Regions from separate parts of the Homo sapiens genome. Here all the other regions are linked to region 1. The links are contacts of gene promoters, found by promoter capture Hi-C in blood cells and fetal thymus (Javierre and others, 2016). All regions are on one chromosome and are shown on one strand. Each heading gives the region's core, a stretch centred on a gene start or on the middle of the fragment in contact. The rest is flanking DNA. Distances are from core to core; before and after follow the strand shown.

Region 1 (3,395 bases), core at 161-2,660:
TACAAAAATACAAAAAATTAGCCAGGCGTGGTGGCACACGCCTACAGTCCAAGCTACTGGGGAGGCTGAGGTAGGAGAATGGCGTGAACCCGGGAGGCGGAGGTTGCAGTGAGCAGAGATCGCGCCACTGCACTCCAGCCTGGGCGACAGAGCTAGACTCCGTCTCAAAAAATAATAATAACAACAATAAAAAAGTTTTTAATCCTAGTATTGCTCTCTAAATATAAATGGAAACAAGCCCAAAACAGGAATCATATGCTCCAGCAAGTACATTTACTGTTTGTAGGTGTAAGGAAAAGGGGAAGAAAAGAGACTGAGGTTTTGGATAGTGCTTCACTATTTTCATAAGTTTAAAAGGTAGGTTCATGAAGTATCCACAAAGATAAAGCAGTTTAACCCAAGAATAGCTCACCCTCGGCAGTCTGTAACTTGGTGGGGGGCGGGGGGATGGGGAAAGCTATTCCTACTACTTTCTAGAGCAGCGGGAGAAAATAGCCTTAATAATCCAATTATGTTAATCAACAAAAACCAATTTCACAGACTGGCCGCAAACCTAGAGAAGGCACCTATCACAGCTACCATTCTACACAACTCTATTGCCTAACGCAGGAGAGGTGAGACACTTAGAATCTTTCTTACTTTCCTGACGTGGCTGGAGACTTGAAATTAACTTGCAAATTGAGCATTCTCTCTAATAAAAACTGCTCCCACACATGCCAGGGCCAAACCCGAGTAGTCTGAGGTCCCGGATCCCTCCAGTGGCGCAGCTTTCGGAAGCCTGTCTTGGGGGGGAAAAGTTCAGCAACGAAGTCGCAGGCTCTTAAACCTTTCTCCCCAATTCCTTCTCTCCGACGTTAAAGCGGTGGCCGGGGCAGGCCCGCGGAGGGCGGCCTGGAGAGCGATACGCCCGGGGCCTCCACCAGACCCCACTCCTTTCCGCGTCTCCCGATGCCTGGGAATCCGGGGCGGGTCTGAGAGGGCTGGGGCAAAAGGAACAGTCACCTTCGCGGCGAGAAAGAGGGTGGAGGCAGGAATTCGGGCCAGGCTCTCCCGGAGCTGGCCAGGACTGGCCGAGCCCGACCCCGCACTAACCCGCGAGAGAGGTAGGGCAGCGAGGGTCCGCCGCGGCCCCAGCGCCTACTGCTGGGGGAAGGGGCGGGGGCTCCGGAGCCGAGGGCCGAGCGGGGAGGAGGCAGAGGAGGAGGAGAGGGAGGCGGGGCGGGCAGGCCCGGCCCAGGAGCTGGGCGGCGCGACTCACCTCTGCTCCCGGCCTGCGGGGCCAGAGTAGCCAGGATCCCGCGCAGCTCCGACGCGGAGATCCGCACACGCTCCAGCCCTTCCGCCATCTTCGCGGCTGCTGCTACAGCCGTAGCGGCTCCGCCACCGCCGCGCGCAGCCAGGAAACCACCACAGACGGGCGGCGCGCGCGCTCGCCCACCTCCCGGCCTTTCCCCGCCCCCTGCCGCCCTCCCTTTCCGAACGACGGTGGCCGCGCTGGGAGGAAAAGCGCCCGCCGCCGGTTCCAGAGGGGCGGGACCGGAGCGAGAGCCTGGGTGGGGCGGGCGGGCGCTGCGCGTGCGCAGAGGTGCGGCCGGGGAGGCGCGCGGAGGCTGGAGCTGGAGGCGCGGCGCCGGTGAGCTGAGGTGAGGCGAGGCCGGGCCGTGCCAGGCCAGGCGGGCGTTTGCGGCGGTGGCTGCCGTTGCTGTTGTCGTGGACACCAAGGACACTGCTAGTCTGGGACTCGGGTTGACAGAGACACCCCTCAGCCTGGGCTCCTCTGGACACCTTAGGCCAGGCTCTCCCGCCACAGGCCCGGCCTAGCGCCGCGGGCCATTACTTGGGACCTTGAAGATCTGCTAAGAGTAGTTGTTACTATTCCCTTTTTTTTTTAGTTGGAGTCTCGCTCTGTTGGAGACTCCCGGGCTGGAGTGCAGTGGCGCGGTCTCGGCTCACTGCAACCTCTGCCTCCTGGATTCAAGCGATTCTCCTGCCTCAGCCTCCCTAGTAGCTGGGATTACAGGTGCACGCCACCAAGCCCGGCTAATTTTTGTATTTTTTGTAGAGACGGGGTTTCACTAGGCTGGTCTCGAACTCCTGACCTCAGGTGATCCACCCGCGTCGGCCTCCCAAAGTGCTGGGATTACAGGCGTGAGCCACCGCGCCCGGCCGCCCCCTGACTTTTAAAAACTAGATACGATATAGTTGGAATCGTGTGGAAGGAAGTACATCAGGAGGCATATAAGTCCATTTGGGACCTGTAATCCCGGCGACTCGGAACGCTGAGACGGGCGGATCGCTTGAACCCGGGAGGCGGAGACTGCAGTGAGCCGAGATCGCGCCACTGCACTCCAGCCCGGGAGTCTCCAACAGAGCGAGACTCCGCCTCAAAAAAAAAAAAAAGTCAATTTGGGAATTTCTGTGTCACTATGGATTCTTGAAAAAAATTACTGCTGTGGATCTCAGGTTGACTTTTTAATTTCCCATCTTTAAAATTGAACTATACCAGAAGGCTGGTACTTGAATCTTTTTTTGGAGAACTGTACAGAGGTGAAGCTCCCTTCCCCAAGGCCTCCTGCCTCCACCTGTTGCCCCTCCACAGCCCCATAGGCTTTTACCCCACACCCATCACAGAATAGTTACCAATTATTCCTTAGTCTGAGCCGAAGGGATTGCCACAACCTCTGACAGAACTCCTTCAGTTCCTTTTACGTGACACTTTGTCACCGGAAGGTTAAGCATAAGAAGAAAGTCAGTAGATGATGGGTGAAAAGATCCAACAGTTCAGAAGAGGAACCATTTGAGTGGTCAGAGCAGAAGACAGCCTTTGCCACCAGATTTGAGAGAAATAGGAAGAAGCGTTAAAAAATAATCTGTTTCATATTGAAATTTGAGAGGCCATTGCATGATTTCTTTTTTCAGCTGGAAAAATAATGGAAAACAAGAAAACTTTCTTAGGACAAATGGCACCACCCATTTAATGCAACAGTGTCAGTGAACTGCAGATTAGATATGCCAAAAGTTAAACCAGTTCAAGAAAATTTACCAGAACTCAGAAGGAAAAGGTAATAGATAAAAACTGAGAGACAAAGATAGGAGACATGGAGAAGGGGTACAAAAAATTAATAATTAAATACGAGTTCCAGAAGGGGATAATACAGCTGACTGCAGAAGAGCAATAATCAAATAGTAGAAGAAAATTTACTACGTTGGTGGAAATTTTTGAATTATCAGATTTAAAGAATTCATGAAATACCAGGTAAAAAGAAATGACAAGAAAGACAACCATATTTAAGTCAGTATCACAATGAAAGCTGCTGAGATTTTTTGTTTTTCGTTTTTTTTGAGACGGAGTTTCACTCTTGTTGCCCAGGCTGGAGTGCAGTGGCACAATCTTG
Region 2 (3,467 bases), core at 890-3,389, 140 kb before region 1:
TTAATTAATTTTTTTGAGACAGATCTCACTCTATTGCCCAGGCTGGAGTGCAGTGGTGCAATCTCAGCTCACTGCAGCCTCCGCCTCCTGGGTTCAAGTGATTCTTGTGCCTCAGCCTCCCAAGTAGCTGGGATTACAGGGTGCACAACCAAACCTGGTTAATTTTTGTATTTTTAGTAGAGACAGGGTTTCACCATACTGCCCAGGCTAGTCTCGAACCCCTGACCTCTGGTGAACCGCCTGCCTCGGCCTCCCAAAGTGCTGGGATTACAGGCATGAGCCACCGCGCCTGGCCTTCAATTGTTTTGAATATCTAAAATTATGGGCTGGGTACAGTGGCTCATGCCTGTAATTCCAGCACTTTAGGATGCCAAGGCAGGAGGATCACCTAAACCTAGGAGTTCAAGGCCAGCCCAGGCAACATAGTGGGACCCCGTTTCCACAAAAAATTTAAAAATTAGCCAGGTGTGATGGCGTGCGCCTATAGTCCCCAGCTACTCAAGGGACTGAGGTGGGAGGATTGCTTGAGCCTGGGAAGTCAAGGCTGCAGTGAGCCATGATTGTATCACTGCCCTCCACCCTGGACAACAGGGCAAGACCCTGTCTCAAAAAAATAAATAAAATAAAAGTAAATATAATTATGAAGTAAAAATATATATTCTTTTACATATATGATATTATATTAGTAAAGAAAACTAAAAAGGGTGAGACAAAAAGTACCAGGGCAGAAGTTTAAATCAAAGTTTCTTTTTCTATCATACATTCTCCTCTTAACCAATTTTAATTTTATATTTATTAAGTCTTGAGACAAAGGTTGTATGTATGTATGTAGGTAGGTAGGTAGGAAGGCTAGGCAGGTAGGCATGCTCACATAACTGACCCTTTTTTTTTTTTTTTTTTAGAGATGGAGTTTTGCTCTGGTTGCCCAGGCTGGAGTGCAGGGGCGCGATCTTGGCTCACTGCAACCTCTGCCTCCTGGGTTCAAGCAATTCTGCCTCAGCCTCCCGAGTAGCTGGGATTACAGGCGTGCATCACCAAGCCTGGCTAATTTTGTACTTTTAGTAGAGATGGGGTTTCATCATGTTGGCCAGACTGTTCTCAAACTCCCGACCTCAGGTTGATCAGCCTGCCTCGGCCTCTCAAAGTGCTAGGATTACAGGCATGAGCCACCAATCCCGGCCTTTATTTATTTATTTTTTTTTTTGAGACAGAGTCTCACACACTGTCACCCGGGCTGGAGTGCAATGGTGCGACCTCGGCTCACTAATCTTCAGGTTTTCATATACCAGTCATCATCATTAATTACTGTTCATCTATAAGCAATCTTGCCTCCAAAGTTTGGAGTCCAGGACATTGTCCTGATCTTCTGGTCCTCAGACATTGCACTGCCACTACTCTTATATTTTTGCCCTTGAACACACCTCCTAAATGATGTAGATAAGACTACATACATTTAGTACCACTCAGAGCACTCTCAAGTCTCAAGGATTTGTCTAAAAAAAAAAAAAATCAAATTCTCTCTTCAAAGACTCAAATTCTAGACTTTGAGGTGCTTTTGAATCCAGGGCATTCCAAGATTTGAAGAACATTCAATCCAGAGGGAAAGATGCTGATAAATTCAGTCTGAGCATTCTATTCCACTCATATGAACCTTTCCTTCTTTGTTTATCCTCGGGAACTATTCTGAGTCCCTTTAAATATCTATGAAATGATAGAGAGGGAGGTCTAAGAAGGAGAAACTATCTCAAAGGGTAAGAACAAAAGACTTATGTGTAAGGCTCCCTGAGATGGCATCGTTTATACAACAGATAAAAGTCAATAACTTCCTATAAAACATCTAATGATTGAGGACTAAACAAATATTATAATATATTCATACAATATTGTGCAGCTCTTAAATTCATGTTATAGGTAAACATGGAAATATATATTTATTGCTAAGTGAACAAAGTACATTACAAAACAAAACATAAAGTTTGATTCTATTTCTGTTAAAAAGCAAAAATTGGCCAGGCGAGGTGGCTCACGCCTGTAATCCCAGCACTTTGGGAGGCCGAGGCGGCCAGATCACGAGGTCAGGAGATCGAGACCATCCTGGCTAACATGGTGAAACCCCGTCTCTACTAAAAATATAAAAAAAATTAGCCAGGCGTGGTGGTGGGCGCCTATAGTCCCAGCTACTCGGGAGGCTGAGGCAGGAGAATGGTGTGAACCCAGGAGGTGGAGCTTGCAATAAGCCCAGATTGCACCACTGCACTCCAGCCTGGGCGACAGAGTGAGACTCCCCATCTCAGAAAAAAAAAAAAAAAAAAAAAAAAAATCAGTGCTGGACATGGTGGTTTGTACCTGCAATCCCAGCTATTCAGGAAGCTGAGGCGGGAATACTGCTTGAAGCCAGGAGTTCAAGACCAGCCTGAGGAACACAGCTGAGATCCTGTCTCTAATAAATAAACAAATAACCAAAAAACTTCACTTATATCCAGTCATCCATCTACCTATCAGCCATCCTTCTAGGTTGGAACATATGCAGCAACATGGAACAAGAAACAGTAGTTATCTCTGGGTAGTGGATCAAGAAAATCTTTTCTTTTCCGTATTGCTAATCTTGATTTTCCTCTCTTTTTTTGAGAAAGGGTCTCCCTCTGTGGCCCAGGCTGGAGTGCAGTGGTGCAATCTAGGCTGAGTACAACCTCTGCCTCCTTGGTTCAAGTGATCCTCCCACCTCAGCCTCTCAAGTAGCTGGGACTACAGATGCACACCACCACACCTGACTGATTTTTTAATTTTTTATAGAGACAAGGTCTCATTATATTGCCCAGGCTGGTCTTGAACTCCTGGGCTCAAGCGATCCTCCTGCCTCAGCCTCCTGAAGTACTGGCGTTACAGGTGTGAGCCAACATGCCTGGCTGCTAATCTTAATTTGTAAAGTATTTCTAAATGAACATTTATTTTGTAATACAAAGATTATTTTATTTATTTTTTAGACAGGGTCTTGCTCTGTCACTCAGGCTGGAATGCAGTGGTATGATCACAGCTCACTACAGCCTCGACCTCCTGGGCTCAAGTGATTCACCCACCTCAACCTCTCAAGTAGCTAGGACCACAGACGGAGGCCACCAAGCCCAGCTGATTTTTTAAATTTTTAGTAGAGATGCTGTGTTTCCCAGGCTGGTCTCGAACTCCTGGGCTCAGGTGATCCTCCCACCTTGGCCTCCCAAAGTGCTGTGATTAGAGGTGCGAGCCACTGTGCCAGGCACCAAATCTTCATTTTGTTTGATTCTAATATGTAGATATGGGATTGATTTTTGTACAATGGCTTCATATCCAGCAACTTTGCTACATTTACTTATTATGAGAATAATTCTAATAATTTATGCTTTTTGGGGATTTTCTAAATGTATCATGTTATTATCTACAAATAAAAACAGCTTTATTTTTTCCCTTCCAACAGTCTTATTAATACTTCA
Region 3 (3,207 bases), core at 136-2,635, 160 kb before region 1:
TACCAGCAAGGTCAGCAGGACTTTTGGTTTCCCCCACCTCTCTCCCTCCCTGTCCACTGCAGTTACATATTCATGTCCACAGTCACATATTTTTAAAATTTGATATAATTATCTCCTAGAAATTACTGTATGTAGCCTCTTGGGATCTAAAGCAATTAAGTGAAGATAAATGTATTTCATAGAGCAAGCTGTCAAAGGATAAAGCAATTTCATTCCCCATTTGAAGTGGAGGCTTGGGTCATGCATGGTTTATTTGAAACAAAGCCATCACCTAAAGCTGCTGATCTTATCTCTAACTCTGTTCTCCATTCCAAACTGCTGGAGATGTGTAGCGTGGCACTGCCTGAAGTTATGACATCTGGCTCAAGGCCAGCAGAACAAGCCAGCTCCTCTTCTAGGTTTCAAGCATAAGAGGACGAAAGTCATATTAAAAGACAGTAACTATACAGGTGAAGTCTGTTAAACCCTAAAAAAGGGAGATGTTTCCAGGGTATTGGGAGTGACTACAGAGGCATCTAACAATGGGGAAGTTGTGCAAGAAAAGGCAGAAGAAACAGCCCCCAAATGGGGTAGGTAAAATAAATGCCAAGGAACCAGATTTTTCTCTTCTGGGAGACACCAAACCAAACAGTGAGGCCTATTTCACCAAACAGCCTAAGAGATGGAAAGCACGCCAGACTGACAATCAAGAGCTCAGGGTTCTAGTACTATAAGACCGTGTGAAACTTATGGAAAAGTGCCTGCTTTTTTCTTTTTTTTTTTTTTGAGATGGAGTCTCACTCTGTCACCCAGGCTGGAGTGCAGTGGCGCGATCTCAGCTCACTGCACCCTTGGCCTCCCGGCATCAAGCGATTCTCCAGCCTCAACTTCCCAAGGAGCTGGGATCACAGGCGTGCGCCACCATGCCTGGCTAATTTTGTATTTTTAGTAGAGACGGGGTTTCGCCATGTTGGCCAGGCTGGTCTTGAACTCCTGACCGCAAGTGATCTGTCTGCCTTGGTTCCCAAAGTGCTGGGACTACAGGTGTGAGCCACTGTGCCAAGACATTTAACAAACAAATTTTTTTTTTGAGATGGAGTTTCGCTCTGTCACCCAGGCTGGAGTGCAGTGGTGTGATCTTGGCTCACTGTCACCTCTACCTCCTGAGTTTGAGCGATTCTCCTGCCTCAGCCTCCCAAGTAGCTGGGATTACAGGCGCATGCCACCATACCCGGCTAATTTTTGTATTTTTAGTAGAGATGGGATTTCACCATGTTGCCCAGGCTGCTCTCGAATTCCTGAGCTCATGTGATCCTCCCACCTCAGCCTCCCAAAGTGCTGGGATTACAGGCGTGAGCCACCACGCCCAGCTGGGAAACTGCCTGTTAACTAATTTTTTTTAAACTGTTAAGGGGCACTTTATTTTTGAGACAGGGTCTCACTCTGTCACCCATGCTGGAGTGCAGTAGTGAGACCTCGGCTCACTGCAACCTCCGCCTCCCAGGCTCCAGTGATCCTCCCACCTCAAACTCCCAAGTAGCTGGGACCACAGGCATGTGCAACCATGCCCAACTAGTTTTTGTACTTTTAGTAGAGATGGGGTTTTGCCATGCTGCCTAAGCTGGTCTCCTGATATCAAGTGATCTGCATGCCTCAGCCTCCCAAAGTGCTGGGGTTACAGGCGTAAGCCACTGCACCTGGCCTGACACTTTATTTTTTTAAATTCTTCATATCCAGGCCGGGTACGATGGCTCACACCTGTAATCCCAATACTTTGGGAGGCCAAGGTGGGTGGATCCTGAGGTCAGGAGATCAAGACCATCCTGGCTAGCATGGTGAAATCCTGTCTCTACTAAAAATGCAAAAAAATCAGCCGGGTGTGGTAGCACGCACCTGTTGTCCCAGCTACTTGGGAGGCTGAGGCAGGAGAATCGCTTGAACCTGGGAGGCGGAGGTTGCAGTGAGCCGAGATTGCACCACTGCACTCCAGCCTGGGTGACAGAGTGAGATTCCATCTCAAAAAAAAAAAAAAAAATTCTTCATATCCACATTGTATTCATTTTTATAACATGCAGTCAATGCAATATTTAGAAAGTAGTATTCAATTAAAAAAAAAAGCCATTGAAGCTGTCTTTAGGTGAAATCCATGCATGTCAGACCTTGTCTGAGCACTGCTTTTTACAGAAGCCTTGACAAACTGGAATTGCCTTTCAAGTATTAGTGCATTGGAATCACCTGGAGAGCTTGTTAAATGAGCCTGCTGGGCTCCACCCTCAACTGTTTATGATTCAAAAGGCTGAGGTAGGGCCTAAAACATTACAAGTTCCCAGGTGAATCTGATGCTGCTGGTAATGGCACAGAGAAATCTGGCCAGGAGAATGATCTAGAATTGCAGTGTTTAATACAGTAGCCACTAGCCACATGTGGATATTTCAATTTAACTACATTAAGATTTGTTTTTCGGTTGCACTAGCCACATTTCAAGTATTCAAAAGTCACATGTGGCCAGTGGCTACCATAGAGGATGGTGTGGAAATAGTAACTTTCCATCATTACAGTACTAAACACTGCATCATTACATAAAGTCCTATAATATTTCGCAGCACTGGCCAAGAATCTATTTGATTGCACTGGTTTGTTTAGCTTAGAGAAAAGAAAACGTAAAGAGAATTTCAAGTATAACTAAGGTGTGTCAGATATAGAAAAAACAGACTTTGTGATTTTGAGAAAACTTTTAAAAAATCATTAAGTGGGAATTACAGGAAGGCAGGCTGTGTTCAGTTTGAGAAGGAACTTTTTTTTCTTAGAGATGCGGTCTTGCTCTGTCACCCAGGCTGGAGTGCAGTGGCACAATCACAGCTCACTGTAACCTTGAAATCCTGGGCTCAAGTGATCCTCCTGCCTCAGCCACTTGAATGGCTAGGACCACAGGTGTGCACACCATACCCGCTAATTTTTAAAAAATTTTTTTGCAGAGGCAGGGTCTTGCTATGTTGCATGGCTGGTCTTGAACTCCTGGGCTCAAGTGCTCCTCCTACCTTGGCCTCCCAAAGTGCTGAGATGACAGGCACAAGCCACCTCACTCAGCCTGAGGAGGAACTTTTTATAGTGACTGTCTCATAATAGAGTAAATTCTGGGGAAGCATCTGGAGCAGAGGCCATTGAGAAAACTGGAGGACTATTTTTTCATTAGATAAGAGACTGGCCCTGATGTCTTCTAAGGAAGCT
Region 4 (3,507 bases), core at 32-2,531, 180 kb before region 1:
GTTCTGTGTCTGGACGTCGGCCCCATATACTGGCTTAAAACCTCAAGATACTAGAGGATCTCACCAGTGGGAGGTGCCAGAGCAGCTGAAACATGTCCCTGTAAACAATAAATGTTTATCTGGGCAGATAACCTGGCAGACAGCCTTATTCTCATCTTAGGCAACTCGAAACTCCACAACAGGAGACTGAGCACAGAGGGGCCCCTTCCTCTTTGCCACATGGGTAGGAAGCAGAGATGGAGGTGGTCCTGGCTCCTACCACATGAGGGGTGGCAGAAAGCCACTCTCTGTAAATGCCAGCTTCTTCCCTGCTGGATGATGGCCAGATTCCCTTAAACACAGAGGGTGGGGACAGAGAAGTCAAGTGAAGCAACGCTAGACAATGCTGCCGCATAACGCTGGCTGCTCCACCGCAGCCCTGAAGGTATGAGGAAACCCTGGCGTGTTGGCGGCTGCCTCAGGAACCGCGCTGGCTAAGGGCTTCCCCAGGCCTGGGTGGGAGGCTTGTCACTGACTCTGGCCACACACATAGGCTTGGTCGCCACCTCGGTCAGTGGCAAACAGCTGCTGAGAGGGGAGGGGAGGAGTAGACCCAGGGGTGCTGTGTGCTGCACAGCCAAATCTTCCACTTCTGGAGACTCCAAACGATATTCCTAAGAGCCATATGGCTTAAACCCCATGGAGGTACCAGGAAAAAGGCAGTACGACGGAAAGAGGCAGCTGGAAGGAAGGAATGGAAGTGTGTTAACGGCACAGAAACTCCTTTCATTGACAATTAACTGCAAACAATTTTATTACCAGTTCTGAAACCCCAATCCCTAACTGATGAATTAAATCTTGGCAATGGTTATTCCTCCCACCTATACACTTCTGCCCACACTCTTCTTGGAAGGAGAGAGGACAGGGAAGTGAAACCCACAGTATGCCAAAAGGGAAGTCGAGCTCTCATTCATAAGACTACTAAGCTCTCTCCCAGGGAAGAGAATGGAGATGGCACAACAAAGGCTCTTTGCTCTGAAATAGCACCGAAGTGAAGCCCGGCAGAGCCAGGGTGTGGATCTTGGATGGAGTGCAGAGGAGGAGTGTGTTTGTGTATATGTTTGTGCTCATCTGGTTTTTGTTGGGGGAAGGTGACAATTCATTCTTTTGATTTCATTCAAACTTAGAGCTGCTTTTATAATCACTTCCTGAAAACAGAGCAGGAAGAGAGTGCTATCTGCTCACCCCACCCTCCATTTAACACTGCCCCAGCAATCCAACTATGTGCTTTACACTGAGAGGCCAGCTTCTTGCCTTTGGCAGCACTGAAGGCCAGACATTACCAGCACTCCTGTGTACAGCTCAAGGCTCCACCCAAATCAGACTGCACACACTGAATCCAAGAGGAATATCATTCCAGAACAACAACCCAGGAGAGAGAGAGGAGAGCTGAGCAGGCTGGGTGGGACAGTTGGGGCACTTCTAACTTCTGACACCAGGACACCCAAGTGGTTGGCAGAGGCATTTTGGTAGTGCGGTGACAGATCAACTGTAGTGTGGGAAATCCCAAATGCTACAGTAAAGAAGTTATCTCTGTACAAAGAAAGGGGTGACAATAAGGGTGGGGTACAGGCCACAGGGCAGTAAGGTAGAGAAATCAGTTTTAGCGAACTGGCTAACTACTGGGTTAGTCCAATTCTGAATACACAAGTAATATTCTAGCCTCTTTTCAGGAGAGACTGATGTAGAGTAGTCATGGGCAGGCCAGGGAACAAAGTTCCATTTCTGGCCTAAAGTGGATTGGAGGGTTCCTCCGCAGAGAGTCGTAACAGAGTGTTTATATAAAACCCCACAAACCCACTGCTCCTGGCTGTCCAAGGCCAAAGGCATCTTCTTCCTGGAGAGCTGTGTCTCTTACCCTCTAGGCTCTAAGACTCCCTATTTTACTTAGTCAGGTTTCCTGTTTACTCTGAGACCTGTGATCTCCCCGGGGAGTCATTAGAGAGAAGCTGGGGAAGGGGCAGCAGGGAGACGGAACAGTACTAAGGACACAGGTCTTCCGCATCCTACCATTACTTCTTACATGGCAGAAAAACGAATGGACACTGAAAGGGGGTTTCCTGGTTTAATTAATTATTTACAGCGTTTATTCTTTATTTTTTGTTTCTAACGTGCAGGCATCTCTTAGACTGCTGACCCTCAAGGAAAATGCAATTGGGAGCACAACCATGATTGGCACCGAAAGGCATTTTTTGTTGCTGTTCCCATGAGAACCCCATCAGAATGATGAACAAGGTACATACGCTGCTATAAAATAATCAGCATCTCCATTTGGAGAAGGAATTTCTTTTAAAAACACCTCATTTGGGGCACTATGGTCTCTTCTTCTATGGAAATAGGAAGAGGCAGAAGGAGTTCCATTCCTGCCAGAGCAGAGTCTACTTTTTGCTAATTTTTTGGAAAACAAGAGGTTCTCTTTGGCTCTGGAGAAAAACAGACATTTCCAAAGGGAAAATAGAGAAGGAGACAGGGTCTGATGTGGCAAGACTTGTAGCCCTCTCATATCTCCGAGACAGAGATAACCTGGAGGGACCGAAACCCCCTATTTATTCACCCTTCTAACCATGCATTCCATACAATCCAGACATCCTGAGACCAATGATGATTCAGATACTACAAGGCCTCTGAAGACGTCACTACGATCCTACGATTTAGGAAGAAAAGAAAATCTGAGGATAATTCTCTTGGGCTTGCTGGCCAATAGGATGATGATTAGCTACAATATGGCCAAACAAATTTAAATTTCCTAAAATTGAATATAATTAAAAACGGAGTTCCAATAAATGGAAAAACATTCTATGTTCATGAATTGGAAGACTTAATATTGTTAAGCTGACTACAGTAACCAAAGCAATCTACAGATTCAATGCAGTTCCTATCAAAATCCCAATGGCATTTTCCACAGATCCATAAAAACATCTTAAAATTCATATGGAATCTAGCTGGATGCAATGGCTCATGCCAGTAGTCCCAGCACTCTGGGAGGCCAAAGCGGGCAGATTGCTTGAGGTCAGGAGTTGGAGACCAGCCTGGTCAACATGGCAAAACACCGTCTATACTAAAAATACAAAAATCAGCTGGGTGTGGTGGCGCATGCCTGTAATCCCAGGTACTTGGGAGGCTGAGGCACAAGAATCGCTTGAACCTGAGAGGCAGAGGTTGCAGTGAGCTGACATTGTGCCACTGCACTCCAGCCTGGGAGATGGAGTGAGAACCCATCTCAAAAAAAAAAAAAAAAAAATCATATGGAATCTTAAGGGACCCCATACAGCCAAATTAATCGTGAAAAAGAACAAAAGTTAAAGGGCTCATGCTTCTGGATTTCAAAACTTACTGCAAAACTATACTAATCAAAACGGTGTGGTACTGGCATAGAATAGAACAGAAAACCTAGAAGTAAACTCTCACAAATACAGGGTCAACTGACTTTTGACAAGGGTGTCAAGACCAATTCCAATCTTATGGAAG

What was found. The method cuts DNA at HindIII sites, captures the fragments that hold promoters and counts their contacts. A CHiCAGO score of 5 or more calls a contact.
Region 2: a contact is called between a fragment that was not itself captured here and the fragment with the promoter of SMG6 in region 1, in 3 of 17 cell types (activated CD4 T cells, naive CD8 T cells and non-activated CD4 T cells). The highest score is 6.4, in activated CD4 T cells.
Region 3: a contact is called between a fragment that was not itself captured here and the fragment with the promoter of SMG6 in region 1, in 2 of 17 cell types (activated CD4 T cells and non-activated CD4 T cells). The highest score is 6.0, in activated CD4 T cells.
Region 4: a contact is called between a fragment that was not itself captured here and the fragment with the promoter of SMG6 in region 1, in 2 of 17 cell types (naive CD8 T cells and activated CD4 T cells). The highest score is 5.4, in naive CD8 T cells.

Annotation. Positions count from the first base shown.
Region 1 is chr17:2,302,375-2,305,769 of GRCh38, forward strand. It overlaps SMG6 (SMG6 nonsense mediated mRNA decay factor), which reads right to left and starts at 1,411. Exons shown (of 19, transcript NM_017575.5): 1 at 1,259-1,411. The coding sequence starts at 1,346. It overlaps SRR (serine racemase), which reads left to right and starts at 1,576. Exons shown (of 8, transcript NM_021947.3): 1 at 1,576-1,643. RefSeq lists enhancers at 1-483, 813-1,539 and silencers at 1,041-1,250, 1,441-1,660. The HindIII fragment of the contact is 10,069 bases long and covers 1-3,395 here.
Region 2 is chr17:2,160,224-2,163,690 of GRCh38, forward strand. The region is part of intron 13 of SMG6 (SMG6 nonsense mediated mRNA decay factor); the gene reads right to left. Among named protein-coding and RNA genes, the nearest start is that of SMG6-AS1, 72 kb to the left of the region's middle. The HindIII fragment of the contact is 5,496 bases long and covers 1-3,467 here.
Region 3 is chr17:2,138,675-2,141,881 of GRCh38, forward strand. All of the region lies in intron 13 of SMG6 (SMG6 nonsense mediated mRNA decay factor), which reads right to left. Among named protein-coding and RNA genes, the nearest start is that of SMG6-AS1, 51 kb to the left of the region's middle. RefSeq lists an enhancer at 345-544. The HindIII fragment of the contact is 3,635 bases long and covers 1-3,203 here.
Region 4 is chr17:2,122,692-2,126,198 of GRCh38, forward strand. All of the region lies in intron 13 of SMG6 (SMG6 nonsense mediated mRNA decay factor), which reads right to left. Among named protein-coding and RNA genes, the nearest start is that of SMG6-AS1, 35 kb to the left of the region's middle. RefSeq lists enhancers at 1-7, 1,213-1,262. The HindIII fragment of the contact is 5,768 bases long and covers 1-3,507 here.